Linked DNA regions of Homo sapiens: region 2 is linked to region 1. The links are contacts of gene promoters, found by promoter capture Hi-C in blood cells and fetal thymus (Javierre and others, 2016). All regions are on one chromosome and are shown on one strand. The core of a region is centred on a gene start or on the middle of the fragment in contact, and the rest is flanking DNA. Distances in the headings are between cores, read along the strand shown.

The links. Contacts are between HindIII fragments. The CHiCAGO score rates a contact against its expected background, and 5 or more counts as called.
Region 2: a fragment that was not itself captured here is called in contact with the fragment with the promoter of ALKBH4 in region 1 in 7 of 17 cell types (total B cells, naive B cells, total CD8 T cells and 4 more); the score reaches 8.6 in total B cells.

Annotation. Positions count from the first base shown.
Region 1 is chr7:102,461,296-102,466,112 of GRCh38, forward strand. ALKBH4 (alkB homolog 4, lysine demethylase) reads right to left here and starts at 3,568. Exons shown (of 3, transcript NM_017621.4): 1 at 3,419-3,568. The coding sequence starts at 3,541. LRWD1 (leucine rich repeats and WD repeat domain containing 1) reads left to right here and starts at 3,689. Exons shown (of 15, transcript NM_152892.3): 1 at 3,689-3,865; 2 at 4,522-4,756. The coding sequence starts at 3,786. MIR5090 (microRNA 5090) reads left to right here and starts at 4,447; the gene lies at 4,447-4,531. RefSeq lists enhancers at 3,311-3,960, 4,090-4,616, 4,240-4,339, 4,617-4,817 and a silencer at 3,470-3,899. The HindIII fragment of the contact is 18,940 bases long and covers 1-4,817 here.
Region 2 is chr7:102,393,658-102,398,647 of GRCh38, forward strand. PRKRIP1 (PRKR interacting protein 1) reads left to right here and starts at 2,706. Exons shown (of 6, transcript NM_024653.4): 1 at 2,706-2,880; 2 at 3,963-4,041. The coding sequence starts at 2,755. It overlaps LOC100630923 (LOC100289561-PRKRIP1 readthrough), which reads left to right. Exons shown (of 9, transcript NR_038967.1): 5 at 3,963-4,041. RefSeq lists a silencer at 2,562-2,641 and enhancers at 2,662-2,901, 2,683-3,224. The HindIII fragment of the contact is 3,429 bases long and covers 1-3,354 here.

The sequences.
Region 1 (4,817 bases), core at 2,318-4,817:
TAGTGGACACCAGCCTGGGTGACACAGTGAGACCCCATCTTGAAAATAATAATAATACTTTTTGTTTGTTTGTTTGTTTGTTTGAGATGGAGTCTCGCTCTGTCACCAGAACTGGAGTGCAGTGGCACGATCTCGGCTCACTGCAACCTCTACCTCCTGGGTTCAAGCGATTCTCCTGCCTCAACCTCCCGAGTAGCTGGGACTACAGGTGCGCGCCACCATGCCCAGCTAATTTTTTTCTTGTATTTTAGTAGAGACGAGGTTTCACCATGTTGACCAGGATGGTCTTGAACTCCTGACCTTGTGATCCTCCCGCCTTGGCCTCCCAAAGTGCTGGGATTACAGGCGTGAACCACCATGCCCAGCCAATAGTAAATTTTTAAAAAAGAGTTTCGCCAATGAAATAGCCAGTATTTGCATCTGTGGCACTGAACATTTTACATGGATTATCTAGTTTCATCCCCAGGACAGCCCCAAGAGGAAGGTACCATAACTATCATGGGCAGGAGGTGTGGAGGTTCTGGCCGGAGTCACCCAGTGAGGACTTCGGAGGCCACCAGAACTCAGCCCTGGGCTCTGTGGCCTGTCTCCTCTTCCTCTTCCATCTCCAGGCTCCTCACACCCTGGGCTGCCACTCACTGTGGGCCGCTGTCTTTCTCTGTTCTTCCCTCCAGGGACCTCAGCCCCTTCCAATGCTTTACTTCCAGCCACCGACTCCAGCTCAGACCCCTCCTGAGATTGGCACTATCTCCTCCTGCTCCTGGGGCCCTCCCACGGGAAACATTAAAACTGGGAGTCCCCCGTGTGTCGGCTGAGCAGGCTGGACTTGTCCGAAAGGCCATGGAGCGCTCTTGAAGGGTTTTAAAGGAGTGACGAGGTCAAATGTGAATTTTAGAAAGATCTGGAGGGGGGAGGGGCAGATATGAAGGGTGGAGGCTGGAAAGCCAGTGAGGAACTGCCCCAGTGCCCTGAGATCCTGGATACCTCACTCTCCTTGTTCCATAGCCATCGGGTTGGGAAGATGTCACCTCCACATGGCCACTGGAACGGGTCAGACTTTCCGCAATTTTTTTCTTTTCTTTTTTTTTGTTTGAGGCAGGGTCTCGCTCTGTCACTCAGGCTGGAGTGTAGTGGCGCTCACAGCTCACTGCAGCCTTGACCTCCTGGGCTCAGGCAATCCTCCCACCTCAGCCTCCCAAGTAACTGGGACTACAAGCACACACCACCACACCTAGCTAATTTTTAAATTTTTTGTAGAGACAGGGTCTTGCTATGTTGTCCAAGCTGGTCTCAAACTCCTAGACTCAGGCGAGCCTCCTGCCTCAGCCTCCCAAAGGGCTGGGATTATAGGCATGAGCCACCGCACCTGGCCCCTTCCACAAATTAAAACTCTTAAGTTCATTCATATTGTTGTACAGCCGTCACCACCATTCAGAACTTTTTCATCTTGCAAAACTGAAACTCTTTCCCTATTAAACAACAGGTCCCCATCTCCCCTTCCTGAGCCCTTGGCAACAACCCTTCTACTTTCTGTCCCTGTGACTACCCTACGTAGCTCACACAACAGGAATCATGCAGTATTTGTCTTCTGTGACTGCTTCCTTAACTTAGCATCGTGTCCCCAAGGTTCGTCCATGCTGTAACATATGTCAAAATGTCCTTTTTTTTTTTTTTTTTTTTGAGACAGGGTCTCACTATGTTGCCCAAGCTGGAGTGCAGTGGCGTGATCACAGCTCACTGCAGCCTTGACCTCCCAGGCTCAAGCAACCCTCCCACCTCAGCCTCCTGGGTAGCTGGGACTACAGGTACGTGTCACCATGTATGGTTAATTTTTTTGTAGAGGTGGGATTTCACCATGTTGCCCATGCTGGTCTCAAACTCCTGGGCTCTGGCAATCTGCCTGCCTCGGTCTCCCAAAGTGCTGGAATTACAGGTGTGAGCCACTGTGCCCGGCCTGTCCTTCCTTTTTAAGGCTGAATAGTATTCTACTATGTGTATGCACCACATTTTGTGGATCAAGTCATCTCTTTTTTTTTTTTTTTTTTTTTTTTTGAGAAGGAGTCTTGCTCTGTCACCTGAGCTGGAGTGCAGTGGTGCGATCTTGGCTCACTGCAACCTCTGCCTCCTGGGTTCAAGCGATTCTCCTGCCTCAGCCTCCCGAGTAGCTGGGATTACAGATGTGCCTCACCAAGCCCGGCAAGTTTTTGTAATTTTAGTAGAGGCAGGGTTTCGCCATGTTAGCCAGGCAGGTCTCAAACTCCTGACCTCAGGTGATCTGCCCACCTCAGCCTCCCAAAGTGCTGGGATTACAGGCGTGAGCCACTGAACCCGGCCCAGGTATCTTGATAGATGCTTGGTTTGCTTCCATCTTTGGGCTGTCATGAATAATGTCGTGAATATGAACATGGGTGTGCAAATATCTCTTCCAGACCCTGCTTTTAGTTCCTTTGGATATATACCCAGAAGCAGGATTGCGGATCATGGGTAATTCTATGTTTAATTCATGAGGCATGCCATGCTGTTTCCATAGGACCTTGGGCACTTTTACCATGGACGTTGGGGCAGTCTTCACTGGCTTACCAGCCTCCACACCTTCATATCTGCCCGTTCCCTTCCCAGGATCTTTCTAAAATTCACATTTGACTTCATCACTCCTTTAAAACCCTTCAAGAGCTCTCCAGGGCCTTTGGGACAAGTCCAGCCTGCTCAGCTGATGCACCGGGGAGCATCTGTGATCAGACCTCCCCCCCCCCACAACCTCTCCAGCCTCATCTCTCTCACCTGAGGCATCACCAATCCACCTTCCTACCCCACGCAGTTTTCTGGGTTGGAATGCCCTTGCAACCAACCACAGTCCTTCCATGCCAGCCCAAAGGCGCTGAGTTCTTTTTCTTTTTTTATTTATTTTCTTTTTGTGAGACAGAGTCTCGCTCTGTCGCCCAGGCTGAAGTGAGGTGGCTCGATCATAGCTCACTGCAGCCTCCAGCTCCTGGGTTGCAGCGATCCTTGAGTTCCTTTTCGTTAGTTAACTGGAATTCACTGTCTCCTTGCCCATTGCAGTCCACGGCCTTCAGGCACCGTTGGACTGGTATTCAGCACCCTCGATCGACCCTTTCCGTGTCATCTCCCTGCAGGCCCGTGAAGCTCCCAGCGCCAGACCCGAGAGGCTACGTCGAGGTTTACAGGCAGATCCCCCCAGAGTCCCCGAGGTGACCTGTAATCGAACCCACCCACGTTCCAGCTCCTTCCCCACTCCCAAGCCCGCTCCTTAAAGCCCTCATCTCCTCACCCTGCATCACCCCTACCGTAAGGGTCCCTCACAGGCTTCGATCCCGGCCCCTATCATGGCCAAGCTGGACCTCAGTTTCCCCAGATGCAGAGCGACGTTTGTGGGCGCGGCCCCTCTCCCACCCCTTACCGCTGGGGGCAGCTCCCAGGGCGGGTCACTGCCGCGCTGCCGCTCGCAGATCAGACAGGTCCGGATGCCCTTGCAACCGCATTCCCGAAGGACTTCGGGGGTCTCGGCGGCAGCCGCCGCCATCGCGCCGTCCGCGTGGCCAGTGCGCAGGCGCGGCCGTGGGGGCCGCTGGGAGTTGTAGTCCGCGCCGGGCGGGGGCACGAGGCCTGGGTTCCGCTTCCTTCCGGTCGTTAACGCCCACGGGCTCGCGCGGCGCCGCCTCCTGGGCTCAGTTACCGCGGACGCCAGTGCCGGGCTCCAGGAGACGCAGGGCGACGCCACACGCCGGGGTGGCCGACTGGGTCAGCGCGGGCTGCGCCTCCTCGCCATGGGCCCCCTCTCGGCGCGGCTGCTAATGCAGCGCGGGCGCCCCAAGAGCGACCGGCTGGGGAAGATCCGGAGTCTGGAGTAAGAGCCGGGCAGCGGGTGAGGCTGTGTCCTCGGGGCCGGGCGGTCGGGGAGAAGAGCGGGGACCCTCCCCAACGGCCCGCTTGTCCCCGTTATCGCCCTCTGGGTTCGGCAGAGTGGTCCAAATGTCTTCTTGTTGGGAGATCGTGGCCCCACCCGCTCGCCGGGAGCCCCGAGGGGCCTCATCCCCTGAAGGGAGCCCGGACAGTTAGGGGCACAGCCTGCCGCTATCGTTAGAGGGCCTGGGAAGCACAGACGAGCCCCCGAAGGATCAGGAAGAGCATCCTAGAGGGGGCTAGGATGCCCCCGAGTCCTAAAGTAGTTGCAGCTTTTTTTTTTTTTTTTTTTTTTTTTTTTTTTTTTTTGTTAAGTGGTGTGGAGTCGGGAGTAGTGGCGCGCGCTTCTAGTCCCAGCTACTCGAGAGGCTGAGGCGGGAGGATCCCTCAGCCCAGGAGTTGGAGGCAGCTGTGAGCTATGATCGCGCCTAGGCGACTGAGTGACACCCCGTCTCTAAAAATAAAGTAACGGGGGGATGGGCGGGGCGGCTACACTTGTACGAGAAATGTCAGGTGAAAAAGCCTTCTGAGGTACCCGGGGCAGATTGGTGTAGGGTGCAAAGCCTGCCCGCCCCCTAAGCCTTCTGCCCCCAACTCCAGCCTGTCAGGATTGGAGCTGCTTTCCGAGCACCTGGACCCCAAACTCCTGTGCCGCCTGACGCAGCTGCAGGAGCTTGACCTGTCTAACAACCACCTGGAGACGCTGCCGGACAACCTGGGCCTGTCCCACCTGCGTGTCCTCCGCTGCGCCAACAACCAGCTGGGGGATGTTACTGCCTTGTGCCAGTTCCCCAAGCTCGAGGAACTCAGCCTGGAGGGCAACCCCTTCCTGACGGTAAGTGGGAGCCTCCCACCAGCTTCATACCTGGGGCCAGGACTCTGTTGGGCTCAGGCTC
Region 2 (4,990 bases), core at 390-2,889, 70 kb before region 1:
CCAGGTGACTCATTACTTAAGATAACCATCGCAACCAGATATGCGACCTGCATACCCTCAAAACCAGATATGCGACCTGCATACCCTCACGTGCTTTGCCCAGCCCAGCCTGCATACCCTACCCCTGATGTCAATTCCCATGCTTTGCCTAATAAAAAAAATTCCCAGCCAGGCGCAGTGGCTTATGCCTGTAATCCCAGCACTTTGGGAGGCCGAGGCGGGCGAACCATGAGGTCAGGAGATTGAGACCATCCTGGCCAACATGGTGAAACCCTGTCTCTACTAAAAGACAAAAAATTAGCCGGGCGTGGTGGCGTGCACCTGTAGTCCCAGCTACTCGGGAGGCTGAGGCAGGAGAATTGCTTGAACCTGGGAAACGGAGGTGCAGTGAGCTGAGTTCGCACCACTGCACTCCAGCCTGGCGACAGAGCAACACTCTGTCTCACAAAAAAAAAAAAAATTCCCCACTGGCTCTTCCACAAGTCAGCTGGAGGATCCCTTCACTTCTGCTTCCATTGTCTTCCCTGCACTCAAGCACAAGCTCTGAAATAAATGCCTTGTCTGGGAAATCTGCTTGGATCCCTGTTAAGTTTCATTACAAGGGGAGCCAAACAGCCTATGGTCTGTAACACCAAATGTATGTGAGCAACAGCTTTTCTCTTTCTCTTTCTCTCTCTAATTTTTTTTTCTTTTTCTTTTTCTTTTTTTTAGACACAGAGTCTTGCTCTGTCACCCAGGCTGGAGTGCAGTGGCACGATCTTGGCTCACAGCAACCTCCATCTCCCAGTTTCAAGCTATTCTCCTGTCTCAGCCTCCTGAATAGCTGGGATTACAGGCACACACCACCACACCTGGCTAATTTTTGTATTTTTAATAGAGATGGGGTTTCACCATGTTGGCCATGCTGGTCTCAAACTCCTGACTTCAAGTGATCTGCCCATCTCGGCCTCCCAAAACGTTGGGATTACACGTGTGAGCCACCATGCCGGGCCTTTTCTGTTTCTCAATGTCAACTAAACAAAAAATCAGGCTTTTAAAAAATTAAGGTTGGTTTTTTGCAATCTTACTGAGGACTGTAACCAGGGAAAGTCTTTCACAGAGTTTGTTAAACTGCTCCAAAACAGAGTTTCAGCACACATTTATATATTTATATTTATATACAGTTTATATAAAAACATTTATATACAGTTGGTGGTGCCCTGCATGTGCTCAGAAGTTATATCAAGCTGGGCGTGGTGGCTCATGCCTATAATCCCAGCACTTTGGGAGGCTGAGGCGGGTGGATCACCTGATGTCAGGAGTTCGAGACAAGCCTGGCCAACATGGTGAAACTCCATCTCTACTAAAAATACAATAATTAGCCAGGCGTGGTGGCGTGCACCTGTATTCCCAGCTACTCAGGAGACTGAAGCAGGAGGATCACTTGAACCTGGGAGGCAGAGGCTGCAGTCAGCCGAGATTGCATCACTGAGCTCTAGCCTGGGGGACAGAGTGAGACTCTGTCTCAAAAAAAAAAAAAAAAAGTTATATCTAATGTGCTCAGAAGTTAACAATAGAGCAAAATTTCATCAAGGCTGTGTGTGAGGGTATTATCTAGTTACAGATTACAGAGGCTTGGCTGGGCATGGTGACTTAACACCTATAATTTCAGCACTTTCGGAGGCCCAGGCAGGAGGATCGCTTGAGCCCAGGAGTTCAAGACCAGCCTGGGCATCACAGCAACACCTTGTCTCTGCAAAAAATAAAAATAAAAAATTAACTGGGTGTGGTGGCATGCGCCTGTAGTCTCAGCTACTCAGGAGGCTGAGGTGGGAGGAGTGCCTGAACCCGGGAGTTCAAGGCAGCAGTGACCTATGATCGAGCCCCTGCACTCCAGCCTGGGCAACCAAGCGAGACCCTGTCTCTAAAAAAAAAAAAAAAGTTATAGAAGCATAATCATTAATCCCGTCAGAGATTATGTACAGGAAGAGGCAGGGGCTAGGATCATTGAACTTGTCTTTTCTAAAAATGCAGTGTTCAGGCAAGAGAGGTGGAAACCTGTGTTCTCTCTCGCTCTTCCCAGCTTATTGTTCAGGGCGTTATTGGAGAGGGCTGCGCTCAGTCACCGAGTCACGGCCTTTGTGAAATCCTGCTCGCAAGCAGAATGAGCAGACATGGTTCCTTAGGTTTATTACTGTGCCTCACACTACGAGACGGTCATTCATTGGCAGAGGTGTATTTGCGGGGGGCCAGGTATAGAGTAATTCAAGGCGGACAAAGGAGGAATGTCCCAGTCTTCAGGAAGCTCAGTGACATGTTTGCGCTGTCTTATGTAAACAGGAGATTGTCAGAAATGGAGGAGGGGGCACCAGATCCAAGGAAGTGCCCGGACAAAGCCGGGAGGCGAGGAGAGCCGACGGGGAGGAGGTGCCGAGAGCATCAGCGGGGCTGCTCGGTGGCACGAAGACGCCCGCGGGGACTGGAGAGGTCGGCTAGGGCCAGGCTACTCAGGCACGGAGGGCCACCTCCCCTTCAGGGACGTGAGCATCTAGCTGCACTGATTTGTTGTTCAGGAACAGGAAATGAAACCCCGCAGCTTTGAACACAATAACCCACGCCAGCCTCAGGCTCATGAATATTCAGCAGGCTGCTTGCGCCTTGCAACCCCGCCTCCGTTCCCCTCTGCGGAGACTGCGTATGCGTCGCCGGCGCGCGGCTGTGTCGTCATACTTGCGCGCCGACGCCGCCGCTCGCTTGTGAAACTGGAAGGCTGCCATGGCTAGCCCAGCCGCCTCCTCGGTGCGACCACCGAGGCCCAAGAAAGAGCCGCAGACGCTCGTCATCCCCAAGAATGCGGCGGAGGAGCAGAAGCTCAAGCTGGAGCGGCTCATGAAGAACCCGGTGAGACGAGGCCCAGGCTCCACGGCCCGTCCGAGGCCCACCCCCTTCCTCTGCAGCGCTTCAGGGTTCCCGCAGGTCCACCTTCCCCGCCTCCAAACTCAGAAACTCAGTATCCGACCCTCCAAGAGCAGTCTTTGGGGAGGAGGAGGAGAAGGAGGCTGTCCCGGAGATAGTGAACTTCCCGTCTGTCCTTGTGTGAGAGCCCAGCTTGAATCAAAGCACGGTGGAGCGGCTTCCCGTGCTCCAAGACCCCTTCTGGTTTAACTTTCTGTGAACAAAAAGCGTTAGACTGAAAAGGTAGAATTTGTGGGTTAGCAAAAGGGTATACTCTAAACAACACTGATCGTTAGAGAGACAGTGGCCGAGACGTTTGGAGCTGGTCACTCCTCTCCCGCTCACACCCCCTCTGGGCCTCGGTCCCCTCAATCATAAAAACAATTGAACGGGAACGTCCTTTATACCTTTAACTAGAAAAGCTTGACTCTTCTTATCTAGTAGTGTTAAAGTTGGCGGTTTCTAGCTGGAAACTATGGCTTAGGTTTTTCAGTTCTGCTCTGGAAAGCGTAGCCCTGGGAAGGTGTGGACTGTGTTATACCCAAGAGTACATAGGATGAAAAAAGCCACGACAGAGGGAAGAACACAAAATCAGCTCTGTGTCCAAGTAGCAAAGCAGTCCTGCTTCATTAGTCAATTAAAATTCTTTGGTCTTAAGAGATGTAACTTGGGCTGGGTGCTGTGGCCCCTGCCTGTAATTTCAGCGCTTTGGGAGGCCAGGCGGGAGGATGGTCCGAGGCCAGGAAGGAGTTCAAGACCAGCCTGGGCAACATAGTGGGTCCCTGTCTTTACAAAAATAAAAAAATTGCCTGGTGTGGTGGTGTACGCCTGAGAGTCCTAACTATTCTGGAGACTGAACCGGGAGGATCACTTGAGCCCAGGAGTTCAAGGCTGCAGTGAGCTCTGATTGCACCACTGCACTCCAGCCTGAGGAACAGAGCAAGAACCTGTCTCTAAAAAAAGAGAGGGAGATATATAATTTTGTCAACAGGTTTATACTTAAATGCTTTCATGTTTAAATGTTGCAGGACAAAGCAGTTCCAATTCCAGAGAAAATGAGTGAATGGGCACCTCGACCTCCCCCAGAATTTGTCCGAGATGTCATGGGTAATGGCTGTGTGTGTGTGTGTGTGTGTGTGTGTGTGTAAATATAATTTTTTAAGGTAGCTATAGGCTGGGCGTGGTGGCTCATGCCTCTAATCCCAGCACTTTGGGAGGCCGAGGCGGGCGGATCATGAGGTCAGGAGATCGAGACCATCCTGGCTAACACGGTGAAACCCCGTCTCTACTAAAAATACAAAAAAAATTAGCCGGGCGTGGTGGCAGGCACCTGTAGTCCCAGCTACTTGGGAGGCTGAGGCAGGAGAATGGCGTGAACCCAGGAGGCGGAGCTTGCAGTGAGCCGAGATGGCGCCACTGCACTCCATCCTGGGCAACAGAGCGACATTCTGTCTCAAAAAGAAAAAAAAAAGGTAGCTATAAAAATCCTGTAGTTGGTATTTGTTAAATCTCTGATGAGGGGAAATGTGTGTTCACATGTTCGTGTTTTGCTTTTACAATGACGGGGATATAGTTGCTTTTATTTGTTTTTCATTTGACATTGGTAAATTTAGCTTAAGGGCTATAGTTGCTTATGGTTTGGCACTATAGAATTTTCTCCTGCAGTATTGCGGTTTTTTTTGTTTTTGTTTTTGTTTTTGTTTTTCTTTTGGAGACAGAGTCTCACTCTGTCACCCAGGCTGTAGTGCAGTGACACCATCTCGGCTCACTGCAACCTCCGCCTTCCGGGTTCAAGCGATTCTCCTGCCTTAGCCTCCTGAGTAGCTAGGACTACAGGCCCGTGCCACCATGCCTGGCTGATTGTTTTATTTTTAGTAGAGACTGGGTTTCACTATGTTGGCCAGGCTGGTCTTGAACTCCTGACCTCAGGTGATCCGCCCGCCTCAGCCTCCCAAAATGCTAGGATTACAGCTGTGAACCACAGTGCCCGGCCATCTCCTGCATTATTCTTAATAACGCATTGTGGTTTTTTTGTAAATAAAAATAGTTTTATTAT